Regions from separate parts of the Homo sapiens genome. Here regions 2, 3 and 4 are each linked to region 1. Evidence: promoter capture Hi-C in human tissues and cell types (Jung and others, 2019). All regions are on one chromosome and are shown on one strand. The core of a region is centred on a gene start or on the middle of the fragment in contact, and the rest is flanking DNA. Distances in the headings are between cores, read along the strand shown.

Evidence for each region. Contacts are between HindIII fragments. The study calls those that stand out against the background at their distance.
Region 2: a contact is called between a fragment that was not itself captured here and the fragment with the promoter of SALL3 in region 1, in 2 of the 25 tissues and cell types used here (H1 embryonic stem cells and mesendoderm cells).
Region 3: a fragment that was not itself captured here is called in contact with the fragment with the promoter of SALL3 in region 1 in 5 of the 25 tissues and cell types used here (H1 embryonic stem cells, adrenal gland, dorsolateral prefrontal cortex and 2 more).
Region 4: a contact is called between a fragment that was not itself captured here and the fragment with the promoter of SALL3 in region 1, in 5 of the 25 tissues and cell types used here (H1 embryonic stem cells, hippocampus, liver and 2 more).

What each region holds. Positions count from the first base shown.
Region 1 is chr18:78,978,442-78,981,211 of GRCh38, forward strand. It overlaps SALL3 (spalt like transcription factor 3), which reads left to right and starts at 1,377. Exons shown (of 3, transcript NM_171999.4): 1 at 1,377-1,915. The coding sequence starts at 1,834. LINC01896 (long intergenic non-protein coding RNA 1896) reads right to left here and starts at 1,250. Exons shown (of 5, transcript NR_187297.1): 1 at 599-1,250; 2 at 22-297. The HindIII fragment of the contact is 21,440 bases long and covers 1-2,770 here.
Region 2 is chr18:78,735,463-78,738,232 of GRCh38, forward strand. No RefSeq gene overlaps it. Among named protein-coding and RNA genes, the nearest start is that of LINC01896, 240 kb to the right of the region's middle. The HindIII fragment of the contact is 9,160 bases long and covers 1-2,770 here.
Region 3 is chr18:79,211,212-79,213,981 of GRCh38, forward strand. ATP9B (ATPase phospholipid transporting 9B (putative)) reads left to right here. Exons shown (of 30, transcript NM_198531.5): 11 at 2,751-2,770. Among named protein-coding and RNA genes, the nearest start is that of ATP9B, 140 kb to the left of the region's middle. The HindIII fragment of the contact is 7,641 bases long and covers 1-2,770 here.
Region 4 is chr18:78,807,916-78,810,685 of GRCh38, forward strand. No RefSeq gene overlaps it. Among named protein-coding and RNA genes, the nearest start is that of LINC01896, 170 kb to the right of the region's middle. RefSeq lists enhancers at 1,576-2,077, 2,078-2,577. The HindIII fragment of the contact is 4,117 bases long and covers 1-2,770 here.

The sequences.
Region 1 (2,770 bases), core at 127-2,626:
CTCTGACTTCGTCAAACTTACACAATTAAAGGCAGGCGGAAGAACGCGGGCTGGGAAGCAAGCGGGAAGATTCTAGAATGGAAGGGAGCCCGCCGAGCGCCGCGAGCCGCGCCAGGCCGGGTCCGATGGAGCAGGCGGGGATTCCTCCCCCAGGCGGACCCCCGCCACCAGCCCTGCCGGGAGCTCGCGGCCTGCGGAGCGCCCGGGCTGGCCGCTCACCGCCCGCTTCCCCCAGCGAACGACTCGGGGAAGCTCCAGGAGGCCATCTGTGCTGACGGTTCACACCAGACAGGACCACTTGCAAGGACAAAAATAAGAAATTTAGGAAACGAAAAAAGACGTACTGGGGCGAGGGGCGCGGGCGCGGCGACGACGGGGCCGGGGGCACATCCTGGCGGCCGCTCGGGGAGAGAGGACACGCGCGGGAAGGAGCGCGGCGGGTGCACGGCCGCGGGTGGGAGTACGCGCCTGTGCGCGCGGGGCGAGGGCGAGGGCGCGTGCGTGTGACCGCGGGGAGGGGGCGGGCGCGTGTGCGGGGAGCGCGCCGCGCCAGGGGCCGAGTGTGTGGGGCCGATCCAGAAGTGCGCAGCCCCCTCACCTGGCCCCCGTGTCATCCCCGAAATCCCGGGAAAGGGTGGGCCGCGCGCGGGAGTTTGGTGGAGTTGGAACTTTCGGTCGCGCTCGCTGCCCACTCCGCTGGCGCCCGGTGGCCCGTGGTGAAGGGGGACTAGGGTGGGGAACACCGGGGCCCTGCGGTCCCCTCCCTTTCCTGTATTTAAGAAGCCGCCGGCGGCGCAGAGGCCCAGGCGGGCTGGCGCGGGGGCGAGGCGGCCCGGTGGCAGCAGCGGGCGGGGCGGGCGCTCCGGAGTCGGTGGGGCCCGCGGGTTGGGGGGCGGGGAGAGGGGGGAGTGGAAGGGAGGGGGAACGCAGGGGAGGGAGAGGAGGGGAGGAGCCGCGCGGCCCGCGCCGCTTCCGAACCGGAAAGTTGGTCTTGCCGAAGTCCTGCCACCCCGGCGTGCGCACTCCGCTCCGCTCCGGCCGCGAGCCTCCGAGCCCGGCCGGCCGCCGGGGGAAGCCCGCGGAGGGGACGCGGGGCCGGGCGAGAAGGTCCGGAGAGCGGGGGGCACCTGAGCCCGGGCGGGCCCGCCGCGCTGAGCGGCGCTGAGAGCCGCGGCGGAGCAGCGAAGGCGGCCGGCCGACCCCGCGCGCCCGGAACAGGAGGCGCGGCGCCCGAGCGGCCCGGGCGAGACAAAGGCGCCGGGTCGGAGCCCTGCCCGCGGCCGCTCGCTCCGGGAGGGGCCGCCCGGCGGCGGCGGCGGGGGGGGCGCGGGCGGCGGCGCAGACACTCTATAAAGGGGCGAGCCCGGCGCGCCGGCGGAGACGGCGCCGCGCGGACGCCGCCAAAGTTTGCTGCCTGCGCCCTGCGGAGGGACGGCCACCGCGGCCCGCGCCGCACCCGGGCCCCGCCACAGCCGCACCCGGGGCGGCCGAGGAGCGCGGCGCCGGAGCCCGCGATGTGAGGCGGCGCCGGGCAGCGCGCGCCCCGGTCCCGAGGCGCCGCGGCCCCCTCCTCGTCGGCGCGGCCGCTAATTGCGAGCGCGGCCTCATTTGCATAGGCCGCCGGAGTCCGCTGGAGCCCGGCCAATCGGCGCGGCCCTCCGCTAATGGCCATGCATTATTCACCAGCCTAATTGCTCAGCCCCATGCGCGGCCCGCGCAGCCGCCGCCGCCCCGCGCCCCGCGCCGCGCGCCCGCCAGGCCGCCCCGCGCCGTCCCCGCCGGCCGCCCCGCTGATGCCGCTGCCCCGCGCGGGGCCCGAGCGCCGCTAGCAGCATGTCTCGGCGCAAGCAGGCCAAGCCCCAGCACCTCAAGTCGGACGAGGAGCTGCTGCCGCCTGACGGGGCTCCCGAGCACGGTGAGGGCCGGGGCTGCGGGGTGGCCGGGGGGTCTGGGGCTGCCCGTCCGGGCTGGGGAAGCGCGTGCGGCGGGAGCGGATGCGCGCGTCCGGGAGCGGGAGAAAGTTCCCTGCTTCCTGCGGGCAAGCGTCCGCCCCGCGCCAGGCCGGCCGCGGGGCCCCGGGTACTTCGCCGGAGCGCGCGCGGCCGCCGAGAGAGTTGTGGGCGAAGTAAACTTGGCTCCTCTCCTCGGAGTCGGGGAGCTGCCCGCGAAGGGCGCCGAGGCCGCGGCCGGCTCGAGGACGGCTCGGAGGCCGGGGCGGGAGGGAGTCCACGGTGCCTCCGCCGCCGCGCCGCCCCCCAGGGTCTCTGCGCCAGGACGCTGAGGCCGGCGGCGGCGGGGAAGGCGACCGCAGCCCACCTACCGCTGGACGCGGGTTGGGGACCCCGCCGCCCGGCCAGCTTTGTTCGGGGGCCCGCGGCCCCTCCCGGGCCCCCGCACCGCCTCGGGTGACCCGCGGTGTCCCAGCGCGTTGACGCAGCCTGTGATCCCTCGCGAGGCGAGGAGAAGGTCGGGGGCTTGGCTCTGCCTAATGGCCGCCCGGGGAATTAAGCTGGGGGTGAGCGCAGCGGCGGCGGCCTGGGCCTGGCCCCTGCTCGCGGCGTGTTTCCGGGGCGTTCGTTGCAGCGTCTGCGCGGGCCTTTTCTCTCCCGTCTTTTTGGATCCGCCGAGGCCGGGCGCTGGAGACCTCGGCTTTGCAGTCATTTCGCTGGTAGGAGCGTCCTCTTCGAAACATCCAAGAGCAAAGGGCAGGCGCCGCGAAAGTTAAGAGACTGGCAAAGGGCTGGACTTCCCAGAGTGGCGCCTTAGCCCC
Region 2 (2,770 bases), core at 152-2,651, 240 kb before region 1:
CCCCTGGCGGATGTCTTCGTTTCTCTTTTTAAGTGTGAATTCAGGAACCAAGGCATCCTGTGATTTCCTGCGGTGATTGAGCAGTCATGCTGCAGCTGACGCAGGACCGGCTTCTGAGGAGCAATGAATGCCCGTGGCCTCGGGTCTCACAGCCTTCCAGGGCCCCTGCTCCCTCCGCAGTGCACACCGTGGACGCGTCGCCTGGGAATGGGCTGGCACCAGCACACGTGGCCCGGGCTCTGTGGCCTGGGTGCCAGGACCCTCTGGGGAATGTGGGTGATCTGGGGGCCCTGGGGGATGTTTTCAAATGCAGACTCCCGGGCTTACAGAATCAGAATCTCTAGGAGTGAGGAGCAGGGCCTGCCTGGAATGAGAACGCCACAAGGAAACATTTTTATCCTCGGTGTGAGCCCGGCCTCGCCTCCCTGGTCACAAGCAAAGCCAGAGGGAAGCAGCGAATATCTGTGGACACCTGCTCTGCGCCGGGCCGCCCGCACGGCTCCAGGGCAAGCTCGGACCTACTCTGTGAGCCGTCATTTTGCCCCATTGTAGACAAGGAAGCCGAGGCCTCCGGGCAGCCGTCGTGGGTAAATATTCGATCCCAGCTCTGAGTCCTGATGTGCGGTGGTTTCCAGTTTCCAAGGGGTCCCCGTCACGGCCGATTCCAAGGTAGCAAGCAGACAGCACTGACGGGGTTAGGAAGAGACGGAGTGGGAACAACACGGCGGCGTTCCCTCCCCGTGAGCGTGAAGCGCGGTCGATGCCCCGCAACGGTGCGAGGTGAGCAGTTTCCATGTTTATCACCGTCGTGTTTAATAGAAGTTATTGCTAATTATAAGTAAGTCCACATAATTTGTTATGCATACATAGCACATATATATATATATATATAAATTGTATGTTTAAATGATTTGATCTTTAATAGTGACAGTGTTTCATAACCGGCTCATGAAATTCCTGAAAACGCATCACTGGGCTCCCATGGGCCTGCAAGGACGCAGGCCCCAGCACACCTCTGCGAGACAGACAGCCCGTCCGAGGTTGCCCGGGTGAGTGTGGAGATCTGGGCTGTAAACTCAGGTCTGTGTGATTCTGCTCTTGACCTCCACTGCTGACATGAGAGCTGAAAACTGCTAGGATGTTGGGTCTGATAGGAATATTAAGTGATATGCTAGTCAAGCCTCGTGTAACAAATGAGGAAACAGAGACCAACGGAAATAAGATGACTTGGAAAGTCACAGAATCAGCTCAGAACAGAGCCAGGCCTGGTCGTCCCTTCCTCCTAGGCCAGTCGCCACCTGACCGAGATTGGAGATAAAAGGTAAACAGGGAAGAAAGTCAGAGTAAACGATACCCTAGGCAATGCACCTAGCTATAGGGAGAGTGGGGTTTCCAATTGCACAAGTTATAATAATTATTTAAAAGGATGTGGGCAAAATAATTGCAATAACAACAAAACAATAATAATACCACTTTGCACAGATTGCTTTCAGAGTCACAAAGCTGTCTTATCTCATTTACTCCTCTAAACTCTGAGAGATCTGTGGCCACCCCACACAAAAATCAGACCAGAGGCAGAGAACCCAGCTGACGTATCCAAAGTGGTAGATTTGGGGTTTGACCTCGAGTTTGTAAGACCTTGTTACCACGCATTTCAGGGACATCCCCCCGCACCCTAAGAGTGATGGACATGGGAGCCTCCGGTCTATTTGTGATCCCAGATTTGCCACACCCCCAGGAGTGCACGGTCTGATACTGAGCAGGAGTGCCTGTCAGATAAACTGGGAAAGGCAGGCCTTTCTGTGGGCTTCTGCTCAAGACAGGGGGCCTCCCCAGAAAATGACCAACTCTAGAACAGAGTCAAATCCTGCCCTGGAAGGAAGGCATCCCAGTGCTTCTGGTTACCAGCCACGGAAAGGTGGAGACAGCAGTGAGTGATCAGTGACAAGGTCTTGTGGGGTGACCTCAGTGCACACAGAGCTGGGAAGAGCATTGCCTTGCACTTACCCTGAGCGCAAGGGGGATCCGAAACGCTAGAGAGTAGAATTGTCTTAGGTAGGGGGAAGAGGAGCTGGTCGAAAGTCAGCATCACGTGGCGTGGGGCTGCCGTGGGGCCCTGAGCTCAGACATAACACACCTCTGACATGGAGGCCAGGCCAGCACTGTTCTCCGAGGACGTCAGGTCTGAAATAAATAGTATCTGCACTCTCTTCTCCCAGAGACAGGGCTTTTCACCCTGTGGCCAGGACGCTATACTCAAGTCCTGTCCAACAGCTGGGTCTGCAGGAATTACACCTGAGCCAGGCCCATGAGCAGCTCATTGAAGAAAGGGCCCTGGGGTCTGTGTGTGCAATGGAGGGGACAAGAGAGCTTCCTAAGGTGACCCACACTCAAATTCTCCTGCACACCTGAGAAAGCCTTCTCATTACTAGGCTGCTGCAACCCTTTCTACAGAAAGAACTTGCCTATGGTTTGGACACCATGCTTCACTTGGCAGCTGTTTCTTAACTGGAATTGACAGATCGGTGATCCTGCTTACACAGTAGTCTCTTGGCAAAAGCACAGGATCTGGAACTGTGTTTGCTTCAATCATTTCCCTTGACATTTGTCTGCTCTGGGGAAAGTAGTCACACTAAGGTGCTGGAAAGGGTGCTGGGTTGTGGTCCCCAGTGAGGTGCTGCCCTGGCCATAAGACCCATCCGGATGCCTTTTAAACACAGAGGCTCACATTCCCTGCCCAAGTCAGTATGACCATCCTCAATGAAGAGTC
Region 3 (2,770 bases), core at 194-2,693, 230 kb after region 1:
AAATTTGACCTTGTTAGCATTCTTTGTCTTGCTTTGCAACATGGAAGTTGTTTGCTTAAAATACAACTGTAGTCAATTAGAAGGTGGTATAATTTTGCATGAAATTTTCTATATAGCCTGTAGCAAGGAAGGCACATAGTAACTAACAGAGTAATTATTATCCCACTCACATGAAATTGTGATTGAACAGAAGTTGGACATGATAGGGTTGGACTATAGAATGACTTGCAGACCATCCACATAGCAGCCTCTTTGAAGTAGGCTAAGTCTCGAGGGCCCTAGTCATGGGGTCTGTGGAGTGTAGGAGTAAATGTGGTCATATTTTATGCCTCCCTTTTTGGACCCAAAGCATCTGAATATTTAATATTAATTTTTACCTGTAGTCAATTTGAAGTGTGCAGTTATGGATCAGGCAAATGTAATCACTGGCTTTGAAGATTAAGTGCTCCTAAATCTTTTAAAATGTTGTCTTGGGATAAATGAAGTTAAATTTTTGATTTAATGATGAATACTGGACCACCATCATTTTTAGGGTCCTGTTAAGAACTGGTTTGTTGTTGTGGTTGTGGTTTTAATCTACCAACATGGTCCTGAACTCAGGTCTTTCTGATGTAGAAGTTTCTCCAGTTGGAGCGCGTTGTGAGGGAGGTGGATCTTGATTTTACACTGAAAATATGGGTTAAAGTTTTGGAATTCTTCTGTTTAAGTATTTCATTGAGTGAGAAATCTTTGTGACATTTATATTTGTCACATTCAGTCTCCTGTTATCTTATACGACACAAAATGAGTTTATCATACTTTGTTGCCCTCTCATGTCTCATTTCGCAATCCACAGTTAATCCCTTTCCTCTGTTTTGCCTTGTATACTCAGGTTTTACTCAGTCTTTTAGCCTATTGTACTTCATAAGTACATACCCTTTGTGAAAGAGAATGGAAAATGTCCCAAATATTTCTGCACTGATTCTAGTTACGTTAGATATTAAAAAGCATGACACTCAGAAAAATTCATTTAATCTAATTCTAGTAAGTGTTGATTTTTCATGAGAATCAAGTGAGAGAATACTTACGAGAGCCTTTAGCAAACTTTAACAGATTATACAAATATTGTACCAGGACCTCTGTTAAAAATGTATAACATATGCCTTGTTATGTATCACATTGAATTGAGGTACTGTGCATTGTAAGGCCACTCTAGAGTCCACTTTGCTCATCAGTCAACCTGCTTTCAGCTCAACGGTTTCTAGCTTGATTAATTCTTGCAAAGCCTTTTCTGAGATTTGCTCATTCTGCTAATGTTAAAAAATAAGTTAATTTTGCAGTTTGCCTTCTTACATCATTGTGATAATTTAACATTAGTGGGATGTTTATATTTTGATTTAAACTAGATTGGCAAAACAGAAAATACTGATCAGATGATATTTAATATTTAGCTTCACTGATGTGAAGTAATTCTATGATCTCCTTTTGAAAGCTTTTTATAGTATTGTATTATATATTTAATATTTCTCTGCGTAGTAAGTATAGTCATCTAATCTCAGAAGTTTATGTGGATAATAGTAATAAAGACGGCATTTGTGCATCGGGGAGCTTATATTCTAAGTGTGAGCTGGCCTTGCCTTTCATGAACTTTTACAAACTGAAGCCTCACACTTCTCAGTGACACTCAATTAAAAGAGAAATATATATAATCTCCACACATATCCCTGCTGGGGAATACTTCACATCTTCCACCTTCCTAGATTTTCTAGAGAGGAAGGTGTAAGCCATGTGATATGTATAATATGTAACATATCAAGGTTCACGAAAAGCCGGGAGTTCATATCAATCATCTTTACTTCAAAGAGCCTGTCTTATGATGCTCTGCATTTTACATGTTAAGTTAATGTGACATCAGAGTTTTCATATAATTATTATAGTTAATTCTGTAATGGTTGGTAATTGCACATTATGTGTATATACTTTCTCACCTTAATTGTGTTTCTCACCTTCAAAATTTACAAAAAATTAAGGATGAAAATTAGGAATATAAATTATATATGGCTGTAGTTTCAGAAAGAGATTTCCATGGTTTTTAATACTGACATTCTAGAGATAAGTGCCCTTTAGCCTTTGAAATCTATCGGTCATACCAAGGATATTTTATTATTCTTTTCTCTTAAATTTAAAAATTATTATATCTTTTTGACGTGTAAAAGAGAGTAATAGCTTCTAAATGCAAAGTCAAATACCGTTTTTTATAATATTTCTATTATTTTAATTGTACACATTTTGAAATATTAGCAAAGGCTGTCACTGATATTTAGTAATACTTTGATCTTTACAGTGGAAATACACTAAAAGAAAGTGGTTCATCTGGTACCATCTTTATTTGAAGGTCAAAGGACAAGTTTGATTAGTTAAGGATATAGCCTCTTAATTGACCTTCAGTGATAGAACCACCATTTTAGTAGACAGTAGTGAAAGGCCATTGTCATTATCTCTATTGTCAGTGAAAAGAATATTAGTACGTTTCCTAATGTTATATGTGGGTACATTTGTATTGCTTAACAAATCATTTGACTTTTTCAAAGTCCATTTTTAAAGTTGAGATTAGATTTTCTTGAATTAGCCAAATTAAATACACTGTTGGATAAATTTATATAAAATCAAATAGTGTGATAATACTTTCCATCAAAACAATTAATTAGAAAGTGTTATCTTTTACTCATCTTTAAAGTATTTCTACAAGGACCACTTTCATGTTTTTGCAGGTACTGTAATAGGTGTTGTC
Region 4 (2,770 bases), core at 94-2,593, 170 kb before region 1:
AGACTCCAAACAAGTGTCCTTTCCCCATCTGTTTAGTGCTGTTGCAGACTTCACTGTTTAAAACATCCCCAAGTGCGGTGCTGGAGCACTGCCTGGTGTAGAGAAAACACGCATGTAGAGAAGCTTCGTTCAGCACAAGCTACAGTGCTGCTGGCCCTGAGTTCAATGCTAATGAATCAACAGTAGATACTAAATAAAGCATCTTCAAACAAAAACACACACTAAACAAAATTATATATTGACTGGCTGATGAAACTGTTGTGACTGGAGGCTCTCAGGAACCTGAACTTGTATTTCCCCTAGGAGCAATGGCTCCAGATTCACTATTTCAGTGTTGGCTACAACTTCATAGAGCAGAATTACCCCCATAACAATTGTTGGTAGTGCGCATTTTACATAGATGCATAAAGACATGTGTTTGTGTTATGCAAACGTGTGGCCTTCGTTACATGGAAGGCCTGTGGCTCAGAGCATGGATGAATTCCTCTGTAGAGATAAGGAAGGAAAGCATGGGTTGAGCTGGGGGCTGAATGGCCGGCCCTGAGCCTCCACCAGGGCCCCTTCCTAACAAGTCACTAAAAAAAGAACAGGAAAAATGCCCTGCAAAGCTTTTAGAACAGTCCTAACTGTCCTCATAAGGATCCTTACACACACACACACACACACACAGCACCTGCAGCTCACTCTAATTCCTTAGACCACTTAGAGATTTCACATACGTGCAAAAGAATATTTGTCCTTTGCCTCAATTTTATTATAGTCCTTAAATTCACTAAAACACCCAAGGTAAGTGTTTCCTTCACTAAAACACCCGAGGTAGGTGTTTCTCAGTGAACTTCCCGGCGCCAGGGTTTTCAGGTGTCTGTGATCCCATAATTGGCAATTAAGTTTGCTTTTGGTAACCAGTACCCGGCCGTGCTGCTTCAGTCCCCAGCAGTTGCACAGATGGATGGATAGATGGATGGATGGCCTCTTCTTAATTTGACCAACCACTTGATTCTTTGGCTTCTCACAGCAAAAATTAAGGTGTCTTCTCTTCAGTAATGAGGACAAAGCTGGGCTTAACAATGATGAAACAGCATTCATGCTGTGCTTATTCTTTAACCATTTAAATGAGATTATTCCTCTTGCTTGAACAAGGACCTGCATTTTAATCCCATCTTCCACAGAGAGCCATCTGATAGCTATTTGGTGCAATGAAGATTTGAACTAAAAAATAAAAATAAATTCTCCATTGTCTATCACTCAAATCTGCAAACTCCAATGGAAAGGCTATTTGGAGAATAGAGTCTTTGGAATTATCCACCCAAAAGGGCTCACTACCAACAGGATTTGTAGTGGTTAGTCTTACTTTGCTTCAGGTTTCCTCAGCTGTTCCCAGTATGAGAATGTGGGCATGAAGAAGTGGTCATTACGGAGAGACAAACTCCCCGAGAGTAACTACGGCAGACAGCAATCCTGATGGCCATCACTGTCACATCAGCAGAAACTCGCTTTTAAGGATCTCACACCACTTCACAAACAGGAGCTGAGACAGCCCACAGAGGACCCCACTCAGAGGACCCCACACTGCACCTAAGATCCTGAGCCTTACCCAATCTCCCAGGACTCGGAATATCACACAAATCACAACGATGCATAGCATACCCCCTTCTTGTGATGGCAGTGGGGCTATTTATAAGGTACCTCAATATTCATCAGCTTGTCAGTGTGACTTCCTGTAAAGCTCTTACTTCTGAGATGAAATTATTTTCTCAATAACTAACAACACAAAGGTAGATAATATGCAGCTAAATCAACCCAACCCAGTAGCGCACATGCACACACCACACACATGCACACACCACACACATGCACGCACACACATGCACACACCACATGCATGCACACAAACATGCACACACCACACGTATGCACTCACCACACACATGCACACACACATGCACACACCACACGTATGCACACACCACACGCATGCACACACACATGCACACACCACACGCATGCACACACATGCACACATACGTGCACATTCACACCACATGCATGCACACACACATGCACACACCACATGCATGCACACACATGCACACACCACACGCAAACACACATGCACACACCACACGCATGCACGCACACACACATGCACGCACACACGCACACACCACATGCATGCACGCACACACACCACACGCATGCACACACACATGCACACACCACACACATGCACACACATGCACACACCACACGCATGCACACACACATGCACACATACGTGCACATTCACACACACCACATGCATGCACACACACAGGTGCACACATATGTGCACATTCACACATACACAGGCCCAGACACTACATGCACACACACACATGTGCATGCATATTCACACACTTATTGGCCAGAGTTGAGTCAGATGCTTTCAAAAATTGTCCTGGCCAGATGTGGTGGCTCCTACCTGCAATCCCAGCACTTTGGGAGGCCAAGGCGGGAGGATCATTTGAGCCCAAGAGTTCAAGACCAGCCTGGGCAACATAGCAAGACTCCGCCTCTACAAAAAATACAAAAATTAGCCAGGCCTGGTGGTGCAGGCCTGTAGTCTCAACTGCTTGGGAGGCTGAGGTGGGAGGATGGCTTGTGCCCAGGAGGTCATGGCTGCAGTGAGCTGTGACTGTGCCACTGCACTCCAGCCTGGATGACAGAGCAAGACCCTATCTCAAGAAAAAGAAAAAATTGTCCTGAGAAATGGGACTTCTAGTAAGAAACG